Linked DNA regions of Homo sapiens: regions 1, 2 and 3 are each linked to region 4. The links are contacts of gene promoters, found by promoter capture Hi-C in blood cells and fetal thymus (Javierre and others, 2016). All regions are on one chromosome and are shown on one strand. Each heading gives the region's core, a stretch centred on a gene start or on the middle of the fragment in contact. The rest is flanking DNA. Distances are from core to core; before and after follow the strand shown. Region 1 has its middle 93 kb from the start of SC5D. Region 2 holds the start of SC5D (sterol-C5-desaturase). Region 3 holds the start of NECTIN1 (nectin cell adhesion molecule 1). Region 4 holds the start of ARHGEF12 (Rho guanine nucleotide exchange factor 12).

The links. The method cuts DNA at HindIII sites, captures the fragments that hold promoters and counts their contacts. A CHiCAGO score of 5 or more calls a contact.
Region 1: a contact is called between a fragment that was not itself captured here and the fragment with the promoter of ARHGEF12 in region 4, in 3 of 17 cell types (total B cells, total CD8 T cells and naive CD8 T cells). The highest score is 5.9, in total B cells.
Region 2: a contact is called between the fragment with the promoter of SC5D here and the fragment with the promoter of ARHGEF12 in region 4, in 1 of 17 cell types (total B cells). The highest score is 5.9, in total B cells.
Region 3: a contact is called between the fragment with the promoter of NECTIN1 here and the fragment with the promoter of ARHGEF12 in region 4, in 4 of 17 cell types (naive CD8 T cells, total CD4 T cells, non-activated CD4 T cells and 1 more). The highest score is 8.8, in naive CD8 T cells.

Annotation. Positions count from the first base shown.
Region 1 is chr11:121,198,209-121,200,908 of GRCh38, reverse strand. No RefSeq gene overlaps it. Among named protein-coding and RNA genes, the nearest start is that of SC5D, 93 kb to the left of the region's middle. The HindIII fragment of the contact is 1,326 bases long and covers 660-1,985 here.
Region 2 is chr11:121,291,403-121,294,324 of GRCh38, reverse strand. It overlaps SC5D (sterol-C5-desaturase), which reads right to left and starts at 1,554. Exons shown (of 5, transcript NM_006918.5): 1 at 1,509-1,554. RefSeq lists a silencer at 1,543-1,592 and an enhancer at 1,763-1,812. The HindIII fragment of the contact is 7,130 bases long and covers 1-2,688 here.
Region 3 is chr11:119,727,811-119,730,631 of GRCh38, reverse strand. It overlaps NECTIN1 (nectin cell adhesion molecule 1), which reads left to right and starts at 1,432. Exons shown (of 6, transcript NM_002855.5): 1 at 1,432-2,157. The coding sequence starts at 2,079. It overlaps NECTIN1-DT (NECTIN1 divergent transcript), which reads right to left and starts at 1,049. Exons shown (of 4, transcript NR_120587.1): 1 at 826-1,049. RefSeq lists enhancers at 386-1,246, 1,247-2,108 and silencers at 1,047-1,456, 1,517-1,836. The HindIII fragment of the contact is 12,809 bases long and covers 1-2,821 here.
Region 4 is chr11:120,334,985-120,337,684 of GRCh38, reverse strand. It overlaps ARHGEF12 (Rho guanine nucleotide exchange factor 12), which reads right to left and starts at 1,272. Exons shown (of 41, transcript NM_015313.3): 1 at 410-1,272. The coding sequence starts at 441. RefSeq lists a silencer at 816-1,685. The HindIII fragment of the contact is 6,393 bases long and covers 1-2,700 here.

The sequences.
Region 1 (2,700 bases), core at 73-2,572, 860 kb before region 4:
TTTTTTGTTTGTTTGTTTGTTTTTTGTTTTTTGAGACAGTGTCTCTCTGTCACCTAGGCCGGAGTACAGTGCTGCGATCACAGCTTGCTGCAGTCTCGACTCCCTCAGGCTCAAGTGATCCTCCCACCTCAGCACTGCAAATAGCTGTGACTACAGAAATGGACCACCATGCTCAGCTAATTTTTATTTTTAATTTTTTTTTTTTTTTGAGATGGAGTCTCGCTTTGTCACCAGGCTGGAGTGCAGTGGTGCGATCTCGGCTCACTGCAACCTCCACTTTTTGGGTTCAAGCGATTCCCCTGCCTCAGTCTCCCAAGTAGCTGGGACTACAGGAGCGCGCCACCACACCCAGCTATTTTTTTTTTTTGTATTCTAGTAGAGTCAGGGTTTCACCATGTTGGCCAGGATGGTCTCCATCTCCTGACCTCATGATCCGCCCGCCTCAGCCTCCCAAAGTGCTGGGACTACAGGCGTGAGCCACCACTCCCGGCCTTAATTTTGATTATTTAGAGATAGAAGTCTCCCTGTGTTCCCCAGGCTGGTCTTGAACTCCTGGCCTCAATCGATCCTCCTGCCTTGGCCTCCCAAAGTGTTAGGATTACAGGTGTGAGCCACCACGCCTGCGCTCTTTTGAAATTTGATAATCCCTATGATAAGCTTCTGCTGGCAATAGTGTGCTTGATGGACCTCTCTCCTCCAAACTGACAGTGACGCTGCATAACATAAATTCTACTATATTTCACATTTTGTTTACTGAGATGCCCAGACAAGGTCCCTTGCAGTGATTCTTTCAACTCCATCAAAAATTCTATGAAATCAAATAAAATGGCCTGTGCAAGTTACTTAACTTCTTTGAATCACTGTTTCTTCATTTATAAAAACAGGAAATAACCATTTTTTAAGGTCACTGAAGGGGACTCAAGGAAATAATAGATGCTAAACCCTCATCACCGGGCTTAGTGTATGGTAAATAAACAATAACAGGTTCTTTTAAAATAAAAGTCTTAATTCTTTAGTTGACTGAAAGACTCTAATCTTTAGGGTCAACTAATCAGGTTTGGTGTTTTTTTTGTGTGTGTTTTTTTTTTTTTTTTTTGACTGTTTCTAAATCCTGACATAGTCCAGAGGAGCCAGACTGACACGTGAAGTCATCGAATGCTGATTAAACAGAGGGGGAGTAGGCAGGAGAGCTGCCTCAGAAAGGGCCCCTAGGAATCCACACACAGGCTCTAAATCTAGATGTATCAGGCTCAGAATTTCCACTGAGTTTACACTTTACGACTATAGCAAAGAACAGCTAGAATCCCAGGTTGAAGTTGATGCCATTCTTGGAATTTGTGTTTGGCTCATGAATTTACATTTCCTACCACAGTAAACTTCTTTTTATAAGAGGAATATAGCAGCACACTCATTCTTTTCTAAATTGCTTTTAAAGAGAAATTTGATTCAGTTTATCAATTCTGCCCAAACAACAACATAAAGGTAAAAACACTGATTTTTACTCATGAGAATTTCTTTTCTTTCTTTCTTTCTTTCTTTCTTTCTTTCTTTCTTTCTTTCTTTCTTTCTTTCTTTCTTTCTTTTTCTTTCTTTCTTTCCCCCCAGAGGACTTTGTTATCCAGCATTTGCCAAGTGCTCTATTTCATGTGGTTTAATGAAAGTCTTGGGTCCCATTTTTCTTTGAGATCAGTTTGAGAGGTCCATATTTCTTTCATTTAAAAAGTCAGAATTTCTTTTCTGAATCTCAAGTTTTGAGTATTATCATGACAAAGGTAGACAAGCTGGCAGAGGAAGCCGAAGAAGTTCTCAGAATCTGAAAGCCTAATAAATGGAGATGAATGGATTTTGAATAACAAAACTCTAGTGCCATCTAACTTTGGGAAAATAAAATAGAACCTTTGCTAAATATTGATGTGTTTTGGAGAATAAAATTTTAGAGCTAAATACTAAAAATTTTAAGATTCATCAACTTTTACCCTGAAGCTTTAAGTTACACACACACGCATACACACAAAAATGCAAAAATAAAATGGAACCTTAATGTCCTTAATAACTGGGACTTTATAGCTAAAGGAATGGCCAAGGAACTTGTTTCGCAGCATCCTCGGGGGAAATTACTGGTGTTTCTTAGTATCCTATTGATGTGGTTTGGGTCTGTGTCCCCGCCCAAATCTCATGTGGAATTGTAATCCCCAGTGTTGGAGGAGGGACCTGGTGGGAGGGGATTGGATCATAGGGGCAGATTTCCCCCTTGCTGTTCTCATGATAGTAAGTTCTCATGAGATCTAGTTGTTTAAAAGTGAGTAGCACCTCCCGCTCTCTCTCTTCCTCTTGCTCTGGCCATGTGAAGAAATGCCTGCTTTGCCTTCTGCCACAATTGTAAGTTTCCTGCGGCCTCCCAACCATACTTCCTGTACAGCCTGCTAAACTGTGAGCCAATTAGACACCTTCTCTTTATAAATTACCCAGTCTCAGGTAGTTCTTTACAGCAGTGCAAGAACGAGCTAATACATCTATGGATTTGCTCTAATATTTATTTACTCATTTTTCAAGGTAATCAGTTTAGCTTTTTTTCCATTTATGAAATCATGTGTTTATTTAAAGGCAGTGGCATCAAAGCCCTTGGTTGCTTGCTTTACATTGGTTTAGTGTCTACAAGGAATTACTTTGTTAAATTCAAACTTTTTTCCTCAGGGCAAT
Region 2 (2,922 bases), core at 305-2,804, 960 kb before region 4:
GTCGTCAACTCCTGAATTTTTAAAAATGTTCAGTGCCTCTACAAGCTCATATAATTTTAAGGGGTTATAAGCCCTGAAGTTAGGGGTCCCAAGGACCCTAAATTAAGTACCACTGCTTCAAACAGAAACTTAAATACTTTGTCCTTGCAGAATTAAAGAAACTTCTTCTTAAAACTCAGTTATAATAACAATATTAGGCTTAGAACAACTCAGTCTACCATTATCTTTTTGCCCTACTTTAAAAGTATAGAAAATGATAGCTAATATTTATTGAGAACCAGGTATTATTTTTGTATAACCTCATCTAATCCCTATACCTCTATGAGATAGGTACTTCTATGCTCCCCACTTTATAGATAGGGAAACTGAGGTCAGAGTATTTAAATAACTTGTTCAGTAGCAAGCAACAATAACAGAAAAAACCAGCTGGGATGTACATTCCACAACCTTTCTCTTTGCTACCACGTTATGTTATCTCTCAAGATGTTTTATATGCAGATGAGGGATTCTGAGTACCACCCCATGCTAATTAATTACATTACATAACGAATGGAAAAGCACTCTGTAAATGATCAAGGATCAGTTATTATTTACTAGGTATCAATCATTAGAAACTTTAAAAAATGATAGTGATATAAAGACAAATAACTTCCAGAGGGTTTCCTCTAAAAGTACCGAGCTGCCACAAACTTTCCAGTTTGGAAACTCTATGTACTGAGGTCTTGTTTTCTTCACTTACACCACCTCCAAATCTACTCTGCTGTAACACAGGGATGTCAGTATACATTATTTTTCCTTTTATGATGCAAAAGGAACAGATTATTTCCCTTTTCCTTTCAGTCTCCTCAGCCCCAGATTGCTGTCCCTTCATTCTAATTACGCCGCAGCAACAGAGGCTTGCAATGGTCAGGAGTTCTGATACCGACCAGTTCTTCAGCCTGATTCTTCTGGCCTTTAAAAGAAAAAAACCCTCCCAGAACGAAGGGAAAAGTAAAGCATTCGTGTTCAGCAGCCAGACCAGAATTCCCTTGAGTAAGAGATCTGCAACACCCAACATCAAACACTGCATTTTCTTTAAGCCCGTCCACGGTCGGCTCCTTCAAGTCCAGGCCTCCCTATCGGCCCCGCGATCCCTCCCAGCGCGAGCGGAAGGCCCCTCCGCCCGGACTCCCAGGTGGCGCAGCCCTCCAGGCCCCGAGGTCCCCCGGCCCAGCCCTCGCCGCCAGTCTTCGGGATGCCAGGCTACCTGCCAGCCTCTCCTCTCACTCGGCGCAGGACTCGGATCCGTATGCTACCGCGATCCTACCATCCGCCCAACGCCTAGCACCCAGAGGGCACTCGCTAACCAACCGCGGCGCGGAGAAAAGCCGTGCTGCGAGGACACCTTCCGCCTCGCCCACCCGAGTCCCAGGCGCTGAAGTCTCTCCATCTTCTTTTATTCCATCGCCCCCCGGCCCAGCCCGCTCAGGTGTATTCCGCTTCCTTCCCCGCCCACCCACCGTCCCCACCTGGAGGTGGTCCGCCGCCGCTCCGCACGCCACTGCTCTGCAAACTGTCCTAGCAGCTGGGCAGCCAGCAAGCGGGCCGGGAGGCTGGAGCGGCCAGCCAATCAGCGACCGGCGCCATAAGCTGATATGACGGCAGATCGCGCGAAGGGCCTGCGCGCAGCTCTCCGCGGTCACGTGGGCGCCGCGCGCTCGGCCACGCCCCCTTTGTCCTCTGACTAAGGGGAGGGCGGGCGCCCCATCCGAGTACCTTTGCGGTGGAGGATGCGGTTTCGGGTTTTGCGTTTGTTTCTTTGCTTTCTTTTTAAACTAGCTCTTGTGTCATTCATGGTGGTACCAGGCAGGTTTACGGTGTTTATACAAACATTCCTAGAACGGGTGCCCTGCGTTGAGGGAAATAGACGACACTTCCTTTGACGCGAATGTCTGGGTCGTTTTCTCCCTCAAGGGAGGAGGTGCAGATGTTCCCAAACAGGTGCTCAAGGTTTTAAGACGTAGTCCCCCCGATTTTCTAGCGCTGAATGGCTGGAGGCTCCGCGAGCCGGTGTATGTAGGGGTCTAAATGGTGACAAGATGAGGGTAAACATGGACAGAAACCTTTTCACGATACAAGTTGTTGAAAACCAAGGTTAACGCAGATCTAATTGGCTTTGATTTGCTACACATGAATCGAGCAGCTCCGATTTCCTGAAACAGAGCTGAGCAGAGGAGGGTGGCTTCACAGGCAGAAGAGGACGGAGGAAAGCAGAAATAAGGAACCAAAAGATCTGTCGTTTCAGAGTGACTTTCCTTAAACAGAGATTAAAACAGAGGGGACTGACTTGTGATACCAGCTCAGCAACTTCAAAGTGGCAAACTGGGCCACTTTACCTATTACATAAATAATATGGGGAATACATGACAGAAATGAGGGATTTTTAAGGGAAAAAAATAACATGATTCGATCTGCCTTCAAAAGACTTTTCCGGTAGTTAAACTTCAAATGTACATAGGATACTGGACAAAGTTCAAATGAATTTAAAATAGTGTAGGTGGTTTTTTTAAAAAAGACTCATTATATAAATAAAAATAAATTTTAAAAAGTTTTGAGTGTCTACTTCGTTTAACACATCGTACTGAACACCGGGAATGGAAAGAGATGTTACAATAATGACAAAGACATGGTTCCCAACCTTAAAAAGCTTATGTGCTGTGGGAGAAATGGGCATGTATAAATAACTATGTTGCTTATTACAAGGACAGGAAATAAACAGTAATTGGTGGTATAGGCTGAGCACAGAGACAAAATGGCTATTCTGATGAGGGAAATTAGGGAAGGAACATTGTTTTGCCCAATGAAATGATTTGAATGGACACTTTAAAATGTTATTGAGCATAGATGATAAAACATTTATTAAACGAATAAAAGCTCAAAAGT
Region 3 (2,821 bases), core at 183-2,682, 610 kb after region 4:
ACACAATCCCATATTAAATATTTGTTTACGACATCCGTTTCTATGTCTGTCTTCCCCCACCCTTCAACTAGATTGAGTTCCTTCAGGACAATGATGATGTCTCTGTATCCCCAAGCCAGGCACTGTGTTTTGACACAAAGAAAGCCCAGGTTACATTTGTTAAATGTAAAAGACCATACAGTGAGTGGGTGAGTGTTCATGACAATGCCAGATCTGACTACTTCCGCGAGAAACCGAGACACTCCAGGGCCGGATTCCAGACAGTGGGAATATGGCGCTGTCTTTGCCCCTTCTCCAGTGAGGAACCAGAATTTACGTGTTATCAGAAACAGCCACTTCCCCTCTGCTCCTGCCCGCCTAGAGGGCTGGGCAAAGGGTAGAGGGAGCAGTGTCCGGCCAGGGTCTGGGGAGAATTCGGCTCTCCTTAGTGGGAAACTCTGTCTGTCTTCCTCCCCCAGGGGGAGGGGATGGGGATAGGAGGACCAGAGTAAGGGGAAGAGGGAAGGCCCGGAGGGCGCAGTCGCCTTGGCAGAAATCCTACCACACCCGGATGTAGTGGGTGGTGAACGGGATGGGGCGGAGAGTCCCTGCCCTGCCAGGGACACTGACTGGACGATCCACTTTCGCGGGAATCCCACAAATCTCTCAAAACTAAGGTCCTGGAAACTGGAGGAGAGCTCGTTTTCAGGCTATGTTTGGGCAAGGGCGGGGCGCGGGGTGCTTCAATTTTTGGAAAAGGAACCCCCGAAGGGAGCAGGGATTAGAAAAGAAACTCTACCAGAAACCTCAGTGGGCCCGTCTCACCCACTCATGCCCACCACTGACTTCTCTGGCAGCTCCCCGTCGCCCCGCGCACCGCTGCCTCTCCGTGGAACGTCCAAGTGGTGCAGAGGAGAGGGATCTCCGGAGACTGGGTTCTGTTGCGAGCTATGCCACGTTCCGTCCCGGGCGGAACTCTTCTTTGGGCCTTTGTTTCCTCGTCTGTGAAATGGGGCCAGGGTGGGAGCAGAGGGCTTGCAGAAGCCCTGCCAGCTCCCACGCTGCTAGCCGGGATTCTCCATCCCGCCCTCTCCTCCACCGCCGCCCCCGGCCCGGTCCTAACTCCACCCCCACCCGCCGCGCCTCGGCGCCGCCGGCCGCTAGGGGTCACTGCCTGCCTTTGTCAGCGGAGGAGGAGGGCAGCCCGCGCTCCAGCCGGCTCCCCAGCTGGAAGGCGGCCGAGGGGTAGCTCCCGAGCGAGGGTCCTGAGCCGGACCCCGCAGCCCGCGCTCGCGATCCGCCTCTGCTTCGGTCGGGAAGGCGCGTGCGCTCGGGCTCCGACCGGGCCCCGGCGGGCGCGCATCGAGGCCAGGAGGGGGTTAACGCTAACCCCTCCCCTCTGGCTGACATCACGGGCGAGCGGGTGAGAGGCTGGAGCTCGGCGAGTGAGAGAAAGAGAGCGAGAGCAGCGAGCGCGGCTCCACATTGTTGCGGATCGCCGGCACCCGGCAGAGCGGCGGCGGCTGGGACGCGCGGCGCCTCCGACCCGTTCTCCTCGCGCCCGGCCGCGCAGCCAGAGCCACCCGGGCCGCCGACCGCCGAGCCCCGCGCCCGCCGCCTGGGCCCCGAGCCTTCTGCGCCGCCCGGGTGCGTCCCGCCACCCTCGGAGGACGGCCGGCCATGGACGCCTGCAAGTTGGAGCCGAGCGGGAGGGTGTGAGCGGGCCGGGGCCAGGAGCCCGCGCCGCGCAACCGGGCAGCCGGGCGCGCCGGGGGTGGGTCCCTCTCCCCAGCCCCGCTCTGCGTGGAAGAAGAGGGCGGGGACCGGCGCCGGGAGGAGAGCGGAGGAGGCGAAGGGGCATGACTCGTGCAACTTGCGGCGGGCATCTGCCGAGCCTCTGAGCCGGCGGCGGCCCGGGGCCCGGACTGCGGCCGCGCGGATCCCACCCAGCCCACCCCGCCCCGGCCGACGGCTGCAGCTGACCTGGATCCTTCGAGCGCCCGCCGACCGCCAGCGATCTTCCCTCATCTTCCGGGCTGGTTTCTGCTGCGCGAGGAGCGCTGCCCTCGCCGCCCCTCTCGCCGGACCCCCGGCCCCCGATGGCTCGGATGGGGCTTGCGGGCGCCGCTGGACGCTGGTGGGGACTCGCTCTCGGCTTGACCGCATTCTTCCTCCCAGGTAAGAGCGCTCACCTCTGCTGTCCCCACCCCCATCCAATGCCTCCCCGGGGCTGGGAGCCGGATGGCGGGCACGACTGGATTGTGGGGAGTGAAAGGAGCCAGAAAAGTTGGGTCACGGCTTGGGTAAAGGGGGTGGGAGGTGGCACGGCGGAGAAAGAGGTTGAGAAGCCGAACCGCCTGCCCTGCAGGGAAGCAGTCAGATGCACGTCTCTATGTAGCATGAAAGCACTTTCTCCGCTCAGTTCTTTACAAAAAATAATAATATGTAATAGCGTTCTGTTTATTTAATAACCAGCTCTCTGCTCGGGAAGCAGTTTGGAAACACTGCGTGTTACATAAATGCAAAATAATCACCGTAATCACCGTCTTGGGGTGGGAGACAACAGCCCCAGGGGGAGGGCGTCAGTCTCGGAGCTGCGGGTTTGGAGTATGGCGGGGGGGCTTCGTCTCTTTCGGCGGCCCCTTTGCCAGACGGCTCAGGACGCTCGGGCCCCCTCCCGCCCCACACCGCCCCACAGCGGGCGCGGAGAGTCGGCTGCTGCGGCAGAGGCGGCTCCTCGCTCACCTGCGGTTCCTTTCCTGGAGGGTGAGGCCGGGGCAGCCTCCTCCCGGCCTGGCGCGGGACCGGGCTCCCCCTCGGAACTCTGCTCCCAGCTCTGGGG
Region 4 (2,700 bases), core at 23-2,522:
ATGTAATTGTCTTGAGAATCTACTGCAGGACACGGCTAAAGCTGATAAATAATACACCAATACCGAGCCGACTTCAGGCACCGACCTTCACCTAAAATGACCTTCTCCTCTGATTTCCAGACGAGTACACAATCCTAATGCACACTACAGGCGGAAAACCACAATCATGGTTTTGCCTCCCCCTTCTCTGAGAATCGGAAGGGAAGTTTCTCTCCGGAAAAATTACATTTCCAAAAGCCAATCAACTGGATAACTCGGCAGCAACCCCAGGCTAACTGCACAGCTCCGAAACAACCCTCTTTCCTCTGCCTGTCAACTTCGCTGGCCAAAGGCAATCTGCAATCACCGACTCCCCTGCTAGGTCGGGCCCGATTCCGGGAGGCCGAACGAAGGAGGAATTCATACCAACCTGTCGGTGATAGTAGACTGTGTGCCACTCATTGGGGCCCTTGGCGAGAGGTCCTCCTTTTATCCAACTTGCATTTTACAGTAACACCTCCTCCCCACCCCCAGTGCTCTGGGATCAGGCCCAACTCCGTCAGGGACACAAAAGTCCAACTCAAAACTCCATTCAGTCATCTAGACCATCCGACTGTAAGGGGTCAACGGATGCGGCTTGGAGCAAAACAAGTTATCTCCCAAAACGAACTGAGAAAGCCAGGGAGCGAGTCAGTCCAGAGTGAGTCGAGCTAGAGAGAAATCCTCCAGAAGGCACAAGGATAAACTTCCTCAGAGAGGGAAATCCGCGCGCAGTGGGAAGGGGACCCGGGACTCCCGCCGGGGCTGGGGCGGGATCAGCTCACGGACGGGTGTCGGCTCCTCCTCCGGAGTCTCGGGGCCTCGAACTCCCCGCCGCGGCAAGGGCCGGGGCCCTCCCTCCCGGCTCTCTATCTGGGGCTGCCGGCTGCTCGTGGCCGCAGCGTTGGCCGCGTCTCCGGCCGTCCCGCGCCGGGCTCGCGCGATTCCATGTCCCGGGCCCGGGGCTCCTTCTGTGCTCGCCGCCCTCACCAGGCTCCCGGTGCTGGGACGAGCCGCTGGCGCCGGCGGAGAGGTCCCGCGGCCCGAGGTGACAGGGACCCGGGTCTCTCAGCGCCGCGGACTGCTCCCCATCCCTTTGAGGCCCGGACTCTTCCGCAATCGCCAGAGGCGGCGGCTCCTCCCCGACGCTCCCCGCGAGGGGCGGGAGATGCCCGTCCGGCCCGGCCTGGAAGCCCTGGTCCGGGAGGCGGAGGCGGCGGCGTCTCCCGGCGCAGGGCCGGCTCGCCGGGTTCTGGAGGCCCTCGCGGGCGCGCGCGCAGACAGCGGAGGAGGCCGGCGGCCGTGGGGGCCGCGCAACCGCGGGCGCGCGCGCGGGTTCCGGTTCCGGTTCTGGTTTCCCGGCCCTGGCCGCGTCCGGCGCGAGCTCGCGCTTCCCGTCCCCCGCCGACTTTATGGCCCCCTCCCCTCTGACTTCGGGAAGCCGCCTCACCCGGGATCCCTCCGCCGCTCAGGGCCGCGCTCTCGCCCTTGAACGGACGCCTCCGCCGGAGCCCGGTTTGGGAGAGCGGCAAAGTAGTCCTACGGGGCAGAGGGAGGTGGGACCCGTGCAGCCCCGGGAGGCCCACCCACCTCCCGCGGCGCCTGGGCCCCTGAGTGCCGAGACATGCCCCTTCGAGTCCAGTTTGTACTAAGTCGACTTTCACCAGAGACCGCCCGAGAGCGCCCCCCAGATCCCGAGGACATCGTGCCGGGAGGCTCTTTGAAAATTACCAGCCCCCCTTGTCCTGGAAACTTTTATTACTTAAGGGAATGTATTATCTCTCCTGTCTTCTGGCTGCACGCGTTCTGCCGGTTCCCGGCCGGCGCCCCTCGCTGCCTCCGCAGGCCCCGCTCACCTGGGCACCTGCCGGCTCCGGGGGGAGAGCGCTGCATGAGCCGGAGGCGCAGGGCTGCGGGAGAGCAGCTGGGGACTGCAGCCAGGGTTTCTCGGTATAAATATTACTTTTAGGCTGTTTCTGCCTTGGCAAAATGAAATGTGTTATTTGCCAAATTGATAAAGCATGGTGCTTTCCATGGCGACTTAACAAGCGTGTTGTGGAAAGAACTGGGAGAAGAAAATGAAGTATATTTATCCAGTAAATAGCATTACGGTTCTCTCTGAAGGATTCCCAAACGGTTTTTCGGTTTTTTCCCCTACTGGGTAGAGAGCTTTAGATACCCATCTAGTTTTATGATTGAATAATTCAGTATTTTGGCAATTTAGGTACCACATGTAATACAGTTCTTCAGTTCTGCCTGCAAACATCCAAAGTGGCTATTCCCTTTATCCAACTATTTTCAGACTTTTGAGCTTAAACCTATGTTGGTGACAAGGGATTTCAGCCATTTTGTGGAATCCAAGTAGCAAATCAAATCTAATAAACAGTGGATGTGGAGAGAGGAAACAATTACCTCTTAACAATGCTGTTGCAAAAAGTCATTCCGCAACAGTTCATGAAAGGATCATTATCCCCGAATAGAGGCATGAGCTCACGCTGACGTTAGTTAGAACGGGGGGGAAAAAAAGGAAAAGATAAACAGAGACCAGAGACGACTCTTTATTGCTCGATTTTTTAGGTTCAAGGCACAGCCAACTAATTTTGTAATGTTTATTTTTGGAAAGAATAGAAGCAGATTAGCCAAGGCACTTCCCTAATGATGAGACCAGGACACATTGCCACC